Regions from separate parts of the Homo sapiens genome. Here regions 2, 3, 4 and 5 are each linked to region 1. Evidence: promoter capture Hi-C in 16 types of primary human blood cells and fetal thymus (Javierre and others, 2016). All regions are on one chromosome and are shown on one strand. Each heading gives the region's core, a stretch centred on a gene start or on the middle of the fragment in contact. The rest is flanking DNA. Distances are from core to core; before and after follow the strand shown. Region 1 holds the start of NFATC1 (nuclear factor of activated T cells 1). Region 2 has its middle 44 kb from the start of CTDP1-DT. Region 3 has its middle 73 kb from the start of CTDP1-DT. Region 4 overlaps LOC284240 (a long non-coding RNA gene). Region 5 has its middle 110 kb from the start of CTDP1-DT.

Evidence for each region. Contacts are between HindIII fragments. The CHiCAGO score rates a contact against its expected background, and 5 or more counts as called.
Region 2: a fragment that was not itself captured here is called in contact with the fragment with the promoter of NFATC1 in region 1 in 16 of 17 cell types (M0 macrophages, M1 macrophages, naive B cells and 13 more); the score reaches 16.7 in M0 macrophages.
Region 3: a contact is called between a fragment that was not itself captured here and the fragment with the promoter of NFATC1 in region 1, in 1 of 17 cell types (erythroblasts). The highest score is 5.1, in erythroblasts.
Region 4: a contact is called between a fragment that was not itself captured here and the fragment with the promoter of NFATC1 in region 1, in 1 of 17 cell types (erythroblasts). The highest score is 6.5, in erythroblasts.
Region 5: a fragment that was not itself captured here is called in contact with the fragment with the promoter of NFATC1 in region 1 in 1 of 17 cell types (endothelial precursors); the score reaches 6.4 in endothelial precursors.

What each region holds. Positions count from the first base shown.
Region 1 is chr18:79,394,454-79,397,300 of GRCh38, forward strand. It overlaps NFATC1 (nuclear factor of activated T cells 1), which reads left to right and starts at 1,477. Exons shown (of 10, transcript NM_001278669.2): 1 at 1,477-1,898. The coding sequence starts at 1,772. RefSeq lists enhancers at 108-227, 1,869-2,416 and silencers at 1,313-1,712, 2,073-2,172. The HindIII fragment of the contact is 8,960 bases long and covers 1-2,847 here.
Region 2 is chr18:79,634,661-79,637,507 of GRCh38, forward strand. No RefSeq gene overlaps it. Among named protein-coding and RNA genes, the nearest start is that of CTDP1-DT, 44 kb to the right of the region's middle. The HindIII fragment of the contact is 5,621 bases long and covers 1-2,847 here.
Region 3 is chr18:79,605,198-79,608,044 of GRCh38, forward strand. No RefSeq gene overlaps it. Among named protein-coding and RNA genes, the nearest start is that of CTDP1-DT, 73 kb to the right of the region's middle. The HindIII fragment of the contact is 1,972 bases long and covers 388-2,359 here.
Region 4 is chr18:79,587,003-79,589,849 of GRCh38, forward strand. It overlaps LOC284240 (a long non-coding RNA gene), which reads left to right. Exons shown (of 4, transcript NR_148949.1): 4 at 1-2,016. Among named protein-coding and RNA genes, the nearest start is that of CTDP1-DT, 91 kb to the right of the region's middle. The HindIII fragment of the contact is 1,857 bases long and covers 555-2,411 here.
Region 5 is chr18:79,565,953-79,568,799 of GRCh38, forward strand. No RefSeq gene overlaps it. Among named protein-coding and RNA genes, the nearest start is that of CTDP1-DT, 110 kb to the right of the region's middle. The HindIII fragment of the contact is 1,690 bases long and covers 654-2,343 here.

The DNA of each region.
Region 1 (2,847 bases), core at 227-2,726:
ACCCCCGCCCACCGGCCTGGGCGTCCTCCCGCGGCCCCTCCTCCCCTCCCGGCGCCCGGTGCTCTGGGGCGCGTGCCACGCCTGGCTCGGCGCCGTAGGGGCCCCCGCAGGTAGAGACCCCTGGAAATGGCCTCGACGCCGCAGGAGCGAGGCGGCCACCACCCCGCTAATCCGGGCACGTCTCTCCAGGCCGAGGCCTGCGGTGGAAAAGCCGGGGTTCCATTTGTGCTGAGTCGGGGCGGCCGAATGGAGCCAGGCCTCGGGACGCGGGACGGACGGGCTCTGGCCGCGCACCTTCGCGGGCTCTGCAGCGCCCGACCGCCTCCCCCGGCAGGGAGGAGGCGCTTGTGGGGGGCACCCACGGGGCACAGTGATCCCTGGGGGTCTGCGGACCTCCTGGGCCCCGCAGCAGACACGAGTTTAGCCTTTGGGTTTAGTTTAAATCACATAAGGGTGTCGTGCAATCGATTTATGGTTTCTACACACCAGACACTTTAACCTCCAACCCCCCCCATCCAAAGCCAACAAGAAAATGCGGTGCCGTGTTGGCAGCTGAGCTGCGCCCGAAGAGACGCAGGGAGACGTAAGAGAGGAAAGTGTGAGTGGCCGGGGGGCCTCCCCCCGTCAGAAGTCGCGCAGTCGCGCCCATAAAACGCCCCCTCCGGGCGGCTAGGGCAGGTGAGCGCGTCCCCGGGCCTCCCCACGCCGGCCCCTGCCACAGGCCGTCTAGGTCGAGCAGATATTTACAGAATAAAAATGACAATAACTCGACGTCCCGGGACGGCCACGCAATCTGTTAGTAATTTAGCGGGATGGGAATTTCCTTTCTAGGGCCTGCCAGTGAAGCGCTTTTCCAAATTTCCACAGCGGGGGAAGCCTGCGATTTTACATAATGACTTCAGCATGCCGGGCTTTCTCGACACCCCTCCCCGGCCCCCGGCCCCCGCCCCCCGCCCCTTTTCCAGCAGGGCCGGGCTCCCTCCGGACACCCGCGTGGACTCAGGCGTCCCGTCTGGCCCGTTCGCCCCCGTTTCCCCCGCCAGCCCCAGCGCCCCCCTGCCCGGCCCCCGGATTCCCCGTTCCCGCCCCTACGCCCCCATCCCCTCCCCGTGCGCCCCTCCCCGTGCGCCCCCCTCCCCGTGCGCCCCCCCTCCCCGTGCGCCCCCCTCCCCGTGCGCCCCCCCTCCCCGGGCGCCCCCCTCCCCGGGCGCCCCCCCTCCCCGTGCGCCCCCCCCTCCCCGTGCGCCCCCCCTCCCCGTGCGCGCCCCGCCTCTTGCGCCCCTGCCCCCAGGCGAGCGGCTGCCGCGGCGCGGGGAGGGGCGGGCGCTCGGCGACTCGTCCCCGGGGCCCCGCGCGGGCCCGGGCAGCAGGGGCGTGATGTCACGGCAGGGAGGGGGCGCGGGAGCCGCCGGGCCGGCGGGGAGGCGGGGGAGGTGTTTTCCAGCTTTAAAAAGGCAGGAGGCAGAGCGCGGCCCTGCGTCAGAGCGAGACTCAGAGGCTCCGAACTCGCCGGCGGAGTCGCCGCGCCAGATCCCAGCAGCAGGGCGCGGGCACCGGGGCGCGGGCAGGGCTCGGAGCCACCGCGCAGGTCCTAGGGCCGCGGCCGGGCCCCGCCACGCGCGCACACGCCCCTCGATGACTTTCCTCCGGGGCGCGCGGCGCTGAGCCCGGGGCGAGGGCTGTCTTCCCGGAGACCCGACCCCGGCAGCGCGGGGCGGCCGCTTCTCCTGTGCCTCCGCCCGCCGCTCCACTCCCCGCCGCCGCCGCGCGGATGCCAAGCACCAGCTTTCCAGTCCCTTCCAAGTTTCCACTTGGCCCTGCGGCTGCGGTCTTCGGGAGAGGAGAAACTTTGGGGCCCGCGCCGCGCGCCGGCGGCACCATGAAGTCAGCGGAGGAAGGTAAGCCCCGCGCGGCCTCCGCCCCCGGACCCCTGCGCCCCCCACGGCCCGGGCCGCGCCCCCCGACCCCGCCCCCGTCGCCCGCACGGAGGGGTCCGGGCCAGAGAACGAGGTCGGCCGGGTCTGTGCGCCCAGGGAGGGGCGCGGCGCGGACCGGGAACGGCGTCCCCCAGCTCCCAGCAGCCCGGTTCCGAGCGCGCCTTCTGCCAATAGGTGTCTCCTCTGCCCCAGCGCTGAGGGCGCGAGGCGAGGCCGCCGCGGGTCCCGCCGAGGAAGCGGCTCGCAGGCCGGCGATTTGGGGACGGGCGAGGCTGGGCCGTCAGGACCACAGAGGGCACGTGGGAGGGAGGAAGGGAGGCTTCCTTGGGAGTGAAGGATGCCCCGTGTCTTCCTGAGCGAGGCAGAGCCACCCTCTGGCGCCAAGATCGCGGTTTGGGGGTTCTGCGCCCCCCACCCCCACCCCGAGCTCGTGGCGGCGTCTCCCTCGCGCCGCGCCCCTGAATTCCCCAGGGCCGAGCCCGTCACGCCGGCTCCTGGACCTGCAGGACCAAAAGATCCAAAGCGCGGCCGCAGCACAGCCCCGAATTTAAGCCATTTTGAAATCCTATAGGCAGGAGTTCCAGCCAGAGAAGATGTTTCAGGCAAGTTTGAAAAGGAACCGCCAAGTTTCGAGCTGCTTCTTTATAGTGAAAAAAAGATGGCACAGTGTGGGTCCCTGAAACCCGGTGTGGGGGGCGCTGAGACCCCCCTGCGGCGCATCTCACATTCCAGTCCCCCACCTTAGCCCGTCCCCGGCACACACCCCTGGCGATGCCGGGTGGGCTCCTGCAAGTGGCTTTGAAAATACCCTTGCAGAGGTGTGAGCATACGAGTTAGGGATTAGGGATTGCAATGCTAATGGAAATTGGAAGACGCTTTTCCAAATTCCTTACCAGCTCTGAAATATTTT
Region 2 (2,847 bases), core at 220-2,719, 240 kb after region 1:
CTCCCCCAAAGTCACTTTCTCAGTGAGCTTCTCCCTGCTGCCTTGCCCCCAGCCACGGACTCCTGGCCAGTTTCTTCCACAGCCCGTGACCCGATGACTCACGTGTGGCTCACTGTCTGTCTCCCTCCCTGGTGGGACCGTGGTTCCTGGACAGCTCCTGGATACAGTCAGCTGGGCTTTGTTCCCTGGGCCACCCAGCTGCCCCCTCCTGTCCTCCAGTGAGAATGAAGCCCATGCAGAGGAAGGCCCACCGGGCCCCTGCCCCCTTTCTGTTGCACTAGGGTCCCAGCCACGGCATCCACACTTGTCCAGTCCCATTAGGAACACCCCAAGTGTTAGGAACACCCCAAGTGTTAGGAACATGCCTAGTGTCTGTGCTGCTCACTCAGGCCTCACAGCTGGTGCTTCCTCATTGAGTCAGCGAGCTTTCCTTCCCAGAAAGTGAGCTTTCCTTCCCAGACGGTGTCTCAGCATGGCCACTCTGCCGTGCATGGCACCAGCGCACACCCCATCCCTGGACGGTCACACTCCTGGCTATGCCCTCAGCAGACAAGGCACAGTGACCAGCGCCTGTCTTAACCTGGGAGAGACACCTGAGCGGCCAGGACAAGTTTTACTCCTCCTTGCAAACCCTGGCGAAACATCCACAGAGAGTGGAGGCTCCGCGGTGCTGTCCCCTGTGCTCCGCGACAGGGATGGAGCTACTCAATCAAATCCAAATCCCGCCGTTCCTTAGGGCCTCGGGGAATGGGATGAGAATGAAGAGACAGCGGCCGAGACAGTGGCTCCTGATCACTCCCCGGGAACAGCCTCTCAACTGCGCCATCACTGATGGCCCCGTCGGTCCCCGCATCACACGTCACAGCCTCTCAACTGCGCCATCACTGACGGCCCCGTCGGTCCCCACATCACACGTCACAATGTTTTCATACTCTAAAGCACAAGCGCATGTTTCAATGGGGTCGTGGATTTTGTAATAATATTTTAGCTTGGAACTGGTAAGAAACTAAGGCAAATTAAATTCAATGCTAGTTTACCCTTGTATTTTAAAAGATGTTGAAAATAAACAGCAAACACCACCAATGCTCTGCTGGCATTCACTAACAAGCCACGCCATCCCACCTGCTCTGAAACGCTCTGTCTTCTGGGTCCCTCCGTGACCCCCCCACACATCCTAGACATCCCTTTTCCTGTGGTCTTTTTTGGCTCTCTGTGCCCTTCCCCCAATACTTATTGGAATATTTACTTATTTTTGCCTCTTCCCTAAACTGTACATTCCTTGAGAGAAGAAGCGTTTTGATTATTATTTTTTTTATTTTTTTAACCTTATCTCCTTTTTTTTTTATTATTATACTTTAAGTTTTAGGGTACATGTGCACAATGTGCAGGTTAGTTACATATGTATACATGTGCCATGCTGGTGTGCTGCACCCATTAACTCGTCATTTACATTAGGTATATCTCCTAATGCTATCCCTCCCCCCTCCCCCCCACCCCACAACAGTCCCCAGAGTGTGATGTTCCCCTTCCTGTGTCCATGTGTTCTTATTGTTCAATTCCCATCTATGAGTGAGAACACGCGGTGTTTGGTTTTTTGTCCTTGCAATAGTTTACCGAGAATGATGATTTCCAGTTTCATCCACATCCCTACAAAGGACATGAACTCATCATTTTTTATGGCTGCATAGTATTCCATGGTGTATATGTGCCACATTTTCTTAATCCAGTCTATCATTGTTGGACATTTAGGTTGGTTCCAAGTCTTTGGTATTGTGAATAGTGCCGCCATAAACATACGTGTGCAATGCCACCCCCATCAAGCTACCAATGACTTTCTTCACAGAATTGGAAAAAACTATTTTAAAGTTCATATGGAACCAAAAAAGAGCCCACATCACCAAGTCAACCCTAAGCCAAAAGAACAAAGCTGGAGGCATCACGCTACCTGACTTCAAACTATACTACAAGGCTACAGTAACCAAAACAGCATGGTACTGGTACCAAAACAGAGATATAGATCAATGGAACAGAATAGAGCCCTCAGAAATAATGCCGCATATCTACAACTATCTGATCTTTGACAAACCTGAGAAAAACAAGCAATGGGGAAAGGATTCCCTATTTAATAAATGGTGCTGGGAAAACTGGCTAGCCATATGTAGAAAGCTGAAACTGGATCCCTTCCTTACACCTTATACAAAAATTAATTCAAGATGGATTAAAGACTTAAACGTTAGACCTAAAACCATAAAAGCCCTAGAAGAAAACCTAGGCATTACCATTCAGGACATAGGCATGGGCAAGGACTTCATGTCTAAAACACCAAAAGCAATGGCAACAAAAGCCAAAATCGACAAATGGGATCTAATTAAACTAAAGAGCTTCTGCACAGCTAAAGAAACTGCCATCAGAGTGAACAGGCAGCCTACAGAATGGGAGAAAATTTTCGCAACCTACTCATCTGACAAAGGGCTAATATCCAGAATCTACAATGAACTCAGACAAATTTACAAGAAAATAAACAGCATGAGGAGGCCCAAAGAGCTGTTATAAACTCCTCGGAAACATCAGAAAAGCCATCTGAAATTTAAAATAAATGGGAATCCACCACTAAAAAATCCGAAATCTAAATGAACAAACCAATAGCCCACAGCCTGCTCCGAGTGACGCGGCCTCCACACGGACCCTCCGCACCTGCAGAGCCGCTCCGGGTGCCCGGCCAGGCCTCCGAGGGACGAAGTCCCTTTGGGGAAAGACATTTACCTAGAACACGCCAACATCTACAAGGGGTGAAATGGTCTTAATAAAGGGTTACATCTTCTGAAATGCTGCATTTTAAAATCCCGT
Region 3 (2,847 bases), core at 124-2,623, 210 kb after region 1:
GCTTCAGAGCTCAGCCCTGGAGGAGCATCACGCTCGCCCAGCCTCCTCACATTTCTGTACTTCTTCAGTCAGTTACAAGAGTATGGATTCTTGGACGCTTACTTTATGTCTTTGTAACCCAACACTACTTTATTTCTTGAGGGTGTAGCATCCAACCAAATTCTCCGGAGTTCTTCTGTAAGGGGACTCTGTCTCTTCTCCCCTAAACTTACTATTTAGCATAATGATTCTTAAGCTTTAGAGAAAGCCATTGTTTAGTATTTGTTGGCAGCGTGAACATAGTTTATCATCTTTTCCATCAGAAAATGCAGCACAGCACAGCTGTCCTCTGTCTCCACCTGTGTGCCCAGAGCCAGGGATGCCCCTCCTCGCCCTCCTGCGCAGCAAAGCTTCCCTCTGCCTCCCCCAGGGCTCCTTCTCTGCATTTGCCCGTGGCCCGGAGCCCACCCTGCTCTGCTCATCCAGCACCTGGACCCCTCGCCGGCTCCCGAGCTCGTGCCTTGGCTTCCCCACTGGGTCTGCGCTCCTCTGTGTGCTGGGGCTCCCACACCCAGTCTGCGTTCCCCGCCAGGTCTACGTTCCCCGCCAGGTCTGCGTTCCCTGCCAGGTCTACGTTCCCTGCCAGGTCTGCACTCCTCACCTGGTCTGCCTTCCTCACCTGGTCTCTGCTCCTCACCTGGTCTCTGCTCCTCACCTGGTCTGCGCTCCTCACCTGTTCTCTGCTCCTCACCTGGTCTCTGCTCCTCGCCTGGTCTGCGCTCCTCACCTGGTCTGCGCTCCTCACGTGGTCTGCGTTCCTCACCTGGTCTGCGCTCCTCACCTGGTCTGCGCTCCTCACCTCACCTGGTCTGCGCTCCTCACCTCACCTGGTCTCTGCTCCTCACCTGGTCTCTGCTCCTCGCCTGGTCTCTGCTCCTCACGTGGTCTGCGTTCCTCACCTGGTCTGCGCTCCTCACGTGGTCTGCGTTCCTCACCTGGTCTGCGCTCCTCACCTCACCTGGTCTCTGCTCCTCACCTGGTCTCTGCTCCTCACCTGGTCTCTGCTCCTCGCCTGGTCTCTGCTCCTCGCCTGGTCTGCGCTCCTCACCTGGTCTGCGCTCCTCACCTGTTCTCTGCTCCTCACCTGGTCTGTGCTCCCCACCTGGTCTCTGCTCCTCACCTGGTCTGTGCTCCTCACCTGGTCTGCGCTCCTCACCTGGTCTCTGCTCCTCACCTGGTCTCTGCTCCTCTGCTCTGTGTCGCCTCTGGCCCTGCTGTCACCACTGCTCCCAACCTCCTCCACATCCCAGTTCTCCAGGACTGCAGTCCATGTGCGAAAATGCACAGACCCAGGACACTCGTGGAGACTGCGAAATGGTGAAAGGGTGTGGGGCAGGGAAACAACTCTGGCCAGGGCCAGCCCGGCTCCCCACGGCCCTGGCAGCTCCTCACACGTCCAGCTGCACAAGGCACTGAGATTGCACACGGAGGAGCCTCAATGGCCTGCGGGATTCATGGCTGCTGGCCAGAGACACGACCCTCCAGGGTGGTTTTCACAGCAATGGTGGTTTTGAGGATTGGAGCCAGGCCCGGGACCTGCACACACACAGGGAGCCCTGGCAGGGAGACCCCAGATCCCAGGCGGAGGGAGCCACTGCCCCGGCCCAGGCGAGGCACCGTCTCTGCCTCCTGCAGATGTCTTTGAAAAGATCATCTGGACATGCCACAAGAGGCCGTGGAGTGCTGTCCCCGACAACCCGCCCTCAGAGTCCCCGCGTGTGAAACGCCAAGAGGGTTCCATGAGGTGAGGAAGGAAGACGGCGCCGCGGGGGGTGCCCGGCGTTCACAGCGCTCACAGGAGCCTGCCCAGCCCTTCCGCCAGGCCTGGGGCGGCCGAGCACAGACCACACATGCTCTGCCTCTTGCCCCACAGCCTGTGGAGACACAACAGCAGCCACGCGGCAGGCAGGGCCTCCAGCTAACTCTTGTGCACACACTAATGCACACCAGCAACACGCCAGGGGCCTCAAGGGCCAGGGCACAGGGAGGGACCTCTGCTCCTGGGACAGCAGCCCTGTGGGGGGATCCAAGGCCTGAGCCCCGGTGAGCAGCTCCATCAGGGCCCGAAGGCCCCGTCTCCATGGGGCCAGAGGGACGGAGGCTGATCACTCGAGCCAGGCACTTCCCACAATCTTCCTGTCCCTGCCCTCAGTACCCCTGAGGAGCGTGGCCCCCTCCTCACTGTGGGTCCAGGCCCAGAGAGGAGGGCGCTGGGGCTGCTGGGCCTTTTGGGGCAGGCCACGGGCACCCTCAGCTCCGCAGAGACTCCTGAGAGCCAGGGAGATGCCTTAGAAAGGAAGCTCCAAGTCTTCTTGCTGGAAGCTTTCAGCACCGAGTGCAGATGCCAGCCCCAGTCCTTGGCCCACGGACCAGGGCACAGGAGTCTGAAGCCACTCACAACATCCCCTCCTCCAGGGCTTAAAACGCAGCCGGGGCTCACGCCCTCTTGGGGGCTTCCGCGTGGCCTGTACCTGTGAGGATGCCGGCAGGCTTGGCGCACGGGTGGCTCCGGGGTCAACTCCACGGGCGCTGCCCCCACCCTCGCTCCCGCAGTGCCTGAGCCCCACTGCCCTCCCCACTGCTGGTGTGCGTGCACCTCAGGCCCCTCCGGGAGCTGCACAGAGTTCACGCCGGGTCAATCCACCATCCACTGCATGGAGAGGCCAGCGGCCTGGGGCAGCTGTGCTGGGTAAGGCAGCGAAACCCTTAATCTAATGATGTTTTTCTCCAACTGCAACCCTTGCACGCTAGGAGCCACTCTCTCTTAATTAAGCTCAGCTCCCACATGCTTTTAACCATGCAACTTTA
Region 4 (2,847 bases), core at 233-2,732, 190 kb after region 1:
GAGACCTGGGGGGTGGCCAGCGGCCCCCTATGGAGGTTCTGCCGTGCGTGTCAGGGCCCCAGGCAGGGCTGTGCAGCGCCAGCCTCACTATCAGTGTGGACACACATCTGTGGGAGGGGCTCTCGTTTTCCCCACCTTCCGGTGAGGGAACCAAGGCAGACTCAGCACCAAGCAGGGGTCAGGCCCTGGTGGAGGTGGATTTTCTTCACTGTGGCACAGTCCTGCTCAGTTTCTAGTCCTGATGGAGGTGGTGGAGGCCCTGGTGGAGGTGGATTTTCTTCACCGTGGCACAGTCCTGCTCAGTCCCTGGACTGCCCCCCTGCACCCAGCAGCACAGGCCGCAGAGCCCAGGAGATGTGGGCAGGAGCTTTCCCCTCGCCTGCCCCACTCCTGCCCACCCAGTGGGCACCCCGTAGATGGGAGCAGCTCTCCGTCTAGCACTTGGACTGCTGGGCTGAGTCATGGCTGCAGGCAACGGCTTAGTGGCATCTCCCAGGTGCCACTGCAGGGATAGCCTCTGTGTCTCCAGGCTCTGCTGTGGCCCCGCGGAGCCAAGCTTACCCATGCCGCTGAGTCGGGGGCTGCAGAGGCCTGTGCGGGCTGCGGTGGCTAGACCTGGGCCTGGCTGCTCAGATGCTGCTGGAACCCTGCTCTCAGCCTGGAGGCTGGCAGGTCTGCCAGGGGCCAACGGGCAGGCATCGCCCGTCTGAAGCTCTTTGCCTCTGAAGGAGCTTCAGCGCCAGCCAGGGGCAGTTTATGAGAAATTCAGAGAAACATGTAGGCTTCTCTGTGTCTTCTGAAGAACTGCCAATGCCTCACCCACCTCTGGCCAGAGGACTCTGGAAAACTTGCGTTTCTGGTATGTATAGAAAAGCGACATGCTAAGCCGCAAAGCCGCCCCCTTCAAGACGCAGCACACGCAAGGCTCACCCTGCCACGAGCACTGGTACCGGCTCACTTTCCGCTCTGCTCGGCGGGACTCCGGCCAGGCCCAGCGTGCAGCTGCAGAAAGGTTTAGAGTGAGGCTTCCACTTCACTCTCCGGTCCAAGAGTTATACTATCTGGTGGAAGTGTTTCTTTTTCCTTTTTTGGACAGTTAAGCTACAGCGATGGGCCAACTGGCACCAGTGTGGAGAGACAGGTATTCCTCACTTTGTGGCACCAACGTGGTTCTGGCAAAGTGGCCTCTTTTCCAGTAAAACAGTCTTCTCCCCTCCCTCGCCTTCCATTTTAGGACCAGTGGTTTGTCCCTGGGGAAGCAACCCCAATTACAGCCAGCTTTGCCATCTGTGGAAATAGCCTGGTCACCAGAGGCACAGAAGCCAGATGCGTGGCCATGCCGGCGGCAGCACCCGCGGCAGCACCCGGGGCAGCCCCTGCCCCCGACCCATGAATCTCAGTGTCCCCCAGGCCGCCCACGTCCCACTCTGCCCAGCCTACACCACCTCCCTCACCGCAAAGTGCCCGCTCTGCAGCTCCATGCCCCTGCCCAGTGGAGCCTCAGCCCCGTCCCACCTGCAGCATGCCCAGCCCAAGTGCCCGAAACCCAGAGCCTCGGACTCAGGGCAAAAGGAAGCCGCCCCATTCCACCACATCAGGGTCTCCACTGTGCTTATTTAGAGCAGAGCACAACTCTCCTTGCGTCTGAGTCCCTTCACACAGGTGACTGAGAGGCTCAGGACAGAGCATTGCAGGGGAGACAGAGGAGGGGCTCGGCCTCGCCAAGCAGCTGGCTCTATTCATTTAGCAGAACCGCTGCCCCACCCCCTCCCAGCCCCTGCACGGAGGGAGGCCACTGGGGCCGGCCCGTCCCCAACTTCTATTTTGTTTTCGCCAGAGCCGCCTCCAGACTCCCTCTTCACATTTTATGTCAACTCTGGGGCCCTGCTGGCTGAAAGTGAGTTCTGTTTTCCGGCAGCCCTGTGGCTTTTGGACTCGGCCTTGAAATTAGTTCATGGCGACCCAGGCACACATCGCGCTGGGAAGCCACGTGGGAGCCGTGCGGGTGGAGCGGCCGCCACAGCCAGACTGAAATGTAGCACAGCGCCTGGGCCTCGTCAGGCCTTTATGACAGAGTGTAAAGGGAATTGCTGCTTAGTCACCAATTTGCTTGGCAAGATTGGATGGATTAGGAAACACGTCGAAGGTCAGACAGTAGGAGTTTGTCTAGACGCTCTATTTTGGACTCGGCGCTGACCCGAGGTGTTTCTGTAGCAACCTTTACAACACTGCTATTCTGGCAATATTGGAGAAAACATGATCCCTCCCATCATCAGGTAGGGCCCGCTCTGAAAATCCTCGCCCCATCGCTGGGTTTGCTGAGGCGCCTCCAACTCCATTTAGGACGAGGAAGCCCGACGGGGAGGCCCCTGGGAGGGACCGGCTGCTTGGGCGGAGGCCAGGCCTCGGGAAGCTTGTCCAAGGCTCACAGGGAAAAGCGCCAAGAAATGGAAGTGGCTCATTTTTCCTCTGGGCCTGAGGGGAAGGTTTTGATTTTACAGCCGCCCCTAGTCATTTCTCACAGGTTTGAAGCAGACCTTTCCAGGGACGGGGGAGGGAGAAGGGAGATGGGGAAGGATGGGGAGACGCCGTGAGGAGGCAGCCACCTCCGGGGATCCCCGGAAGCCTGGACGTGCTCTGCCCGGTGGTTCTGTCCCCAGGGAACACGTGGTCATGTCTGGAGGCATCTGTGGCTGTCACAGTCATGGTATGGGGTGCTCCTGGCATAGAGGGGTGGGGCTGCTTCCTTTTGCCTGTCCCTGCTGCCCTCCCCGCCCTCCATGTCTCCCTGCCACCTGCCCTGCCCTCCCCACCCTGCATGTCTCACTCTCCATCGTACCTGAGGGC
Region 5 (2,847 bases), core at 249-2,748, 170 kb after region 1:
CCTGGTCTCGAACTCTTGACCTGAGGTGATCCACCCGCCTGGGCCTCCCAAAGTGCTGGGATTACAGGCGTGAGCCACTGCGCCTGGCCAATGCCTTTATTAATCACGGATATAAAAGGAATTTGGGTGGCTCAGCGTCTTGAAAGGAGAAAGGAAAGAGTCTCCACTTCTGACCATATTATGAAAAGGTAAAATGCCTTGTTTTTGCTGTGAACATGCTGTGACACAGGTGTGCGACTGAAGCTGACACGGCGGGGGGCCGCGTGAAGGGTCACAAGTCGTGTGCACGCCTGCCTTCCTGTTCCTTTGAGGTGAGGGTCCCGGGTCGTGTGCACGCCTGCCTTCTTGTTCCTTTGGGTCTTTACTGGAGCTCATTTCTGGGCTTGTTCTAAGAGTCATTTCCGGAGAAGTCACTTGGGGAAAGGAGGAGGAACAAGAGAAAGTGGGACGTAGCGAGGGACCACCGCAGAGACGGATGGGGCTTAGCCGCAGCAGGTTCTGGAGGGACCGTGGCTACATCAGAGGAGCTCCGAGGGGACTAACTCAGCGTGCCCTGTGCGTTTGTGTGAGATCCGTCAGCCTCGCATCCGCGTGCCCCACCGCCTGGACTATCCTTGCTTCCAAGAGTGCCCCGTCCCTTTCTCATCTACAGAAGCTTAAACTGTCGTCACATGTGGCCTCTGAATTCTTTCTTCTTCTAAGCCAGGGCTTTGCAACTTTTTTTAAACTGAGACCCACAATAAGAGGCACATTGTACATCACAACCAGCACGTACACGCAGAAGTGAAATAAGAGTTTGTGAAACAGCACTCCCTCTGATGAGTGATTCCCTGATAGAAATCACGACTTCCATTATGGTCATAGAAATAGGTGCTTCCATGCTGCTCTGCTCCTTTTTGAAAATGCTCGTTAGGACTCATTAAATTGATTTCACAACCAGCTGTTTCACAAACAGGTCTAAGTCGTTGCAGCCTGGAAGCTGCTTCTCTGAGGAGGCTGCGGCAGCACTGACCCGAGGGCCCGTCCTCATTTCCGCCTCTTCCCGGCCTCTCTCGCACGGGTCGTGAAACCCACTGTGTCCCCATCACCCCATCCCAGAGGACTCTCTTCTTCTGTCCCCACCCCACAATCCTCCTGCTGTACCTTTCCCCAGGCCCCACCGAACTGCACGGTGTCAGTGACTCGCCTCGGTGCCCGGGCACCCACCCCTGGCCGGCGCCAAGCCCGGCCTCATCCTCGTCCCTCTGGCCTCAGGCTGTGGGATCTGCCCTCATTCTGTAAAGGCTTTTGTGTCCCTGAAACGCTTCCTTTGTTGTGACGAGACTAAGGTGTGAGACAGGATTACAACACACCAAAATGCAGCCACGTCTTAGGCCTGGAGTTGTGGGTGACTGGTAGCATATTCTTTATATATTTGCATTGCATTTTCCAACTTGTCTCCAATGGATCACGTTACTTTTAGGACCAGAAAGAAAACTGACATTAGGATGAGAAGAAGTGGAAAGGCATTGCTGGTCCGTCTGTCTGGGTCTCGCTGGTGCCGCCCCTGGTCAGGGGGTGCTGGCTGCAGGTGGTCTGTCCCGGAGCCTGTGGCCCATTTTCAGTGAGGAGCAGGAAAGCCCAAAGCTGTTGCTGGCGGCTGGTGGTGCTGCTGCGGGGGGCTCCACGCGGCGGGGCCATTGCTGCCCCTCAAGGGCACCGTGGGGGCCCCCAGTCTGCGGGGCTGGCGAGTGGCTTCCTGGCACAGATGTTTTTTATATGTTTGTTCCAGCTATGTCTGGCTAAGCCGCCTCTTTCTAAATGCAGGGCCTGTGCACACATTTGCTCCGGGGATTTTTTTCTACTTTGAAAGGCAGCTCTCGGCAGGGCTGGCTGTGTTTCCTTTGCGATGTGAGCTGCTCGGTGTCGGATGTCACGGATCTGGGGTGTTGGGGACGTGGAGGAGGGAGGCGCAGGCCTCTGCTCGCCAAGGCGGATCCCAGCCCGTCTGCAGCCTCACCTCCTGTTTCAGTGGCCATGCTGATGATGTCACCCACATACCGAAGTGAACATGCTATTTCCTGACCTAAAGTCAGCCAAGGGGAGCGGGCAAGTCTGTGTGAATCTTCCTTTCCCCCTGAGATGGCGAAGTCAACACAGAAGACGTGGTTTCCCTGAGCTCCGGCTTCTGGGCTCTGAGTTTCCCCCCAGCTCCCTCCACTTCTCCGCTGTCCGTCTCCTCCATTTGTCTAAGGGAAGAGACAGGGAAGAAGAAGTGTGGCCTGGGTGGATTCTGGCCCTAAAGTGAAGCATAAAAGAATAAAGAGAAAGAACAGGACATCTCCACGAGCTCAGGGCAGGCAAAGCTTGCTCAGGGCAGTCAAATAGGACACAGAAAATCCAAGCCATACAGGAAAAGGTTAATCTCATTTGACTTCGTTAAAATGATAAACTTTTGTTCATCGAAAGACATCATTCCAAAAAGAAGAGGCAAGTCAGACTCAGAGATTGGTGGTCCATGCAGCCAACAAATAACCAGAATATATATAAAGAACACTTACATATCCATAAGAAACATGCTAACAGCTCTATTTTTTTAATGGGCAGAATACTGGCACAGGAGTTTCACAGATGAGGATATCCAAATGGTCAGTCCACATTGGAAAGGTGCTCAGTGTCACCATTCATCAGGAGGACAACCACGAGATGCCATCATCCCCCCACAGAAGGCTTGAAGCCCAGAGGACTGACGGGGCCAGTGTCAGAGGGGGTGCAGGGCAAACAGCCCATTGTGGACAGAAGCCTCAGTGGACGCAGCCACCTTGGAAGCGCTGGTTATTGGTGATTCTTTCTCTGCAGGTGGTCCGA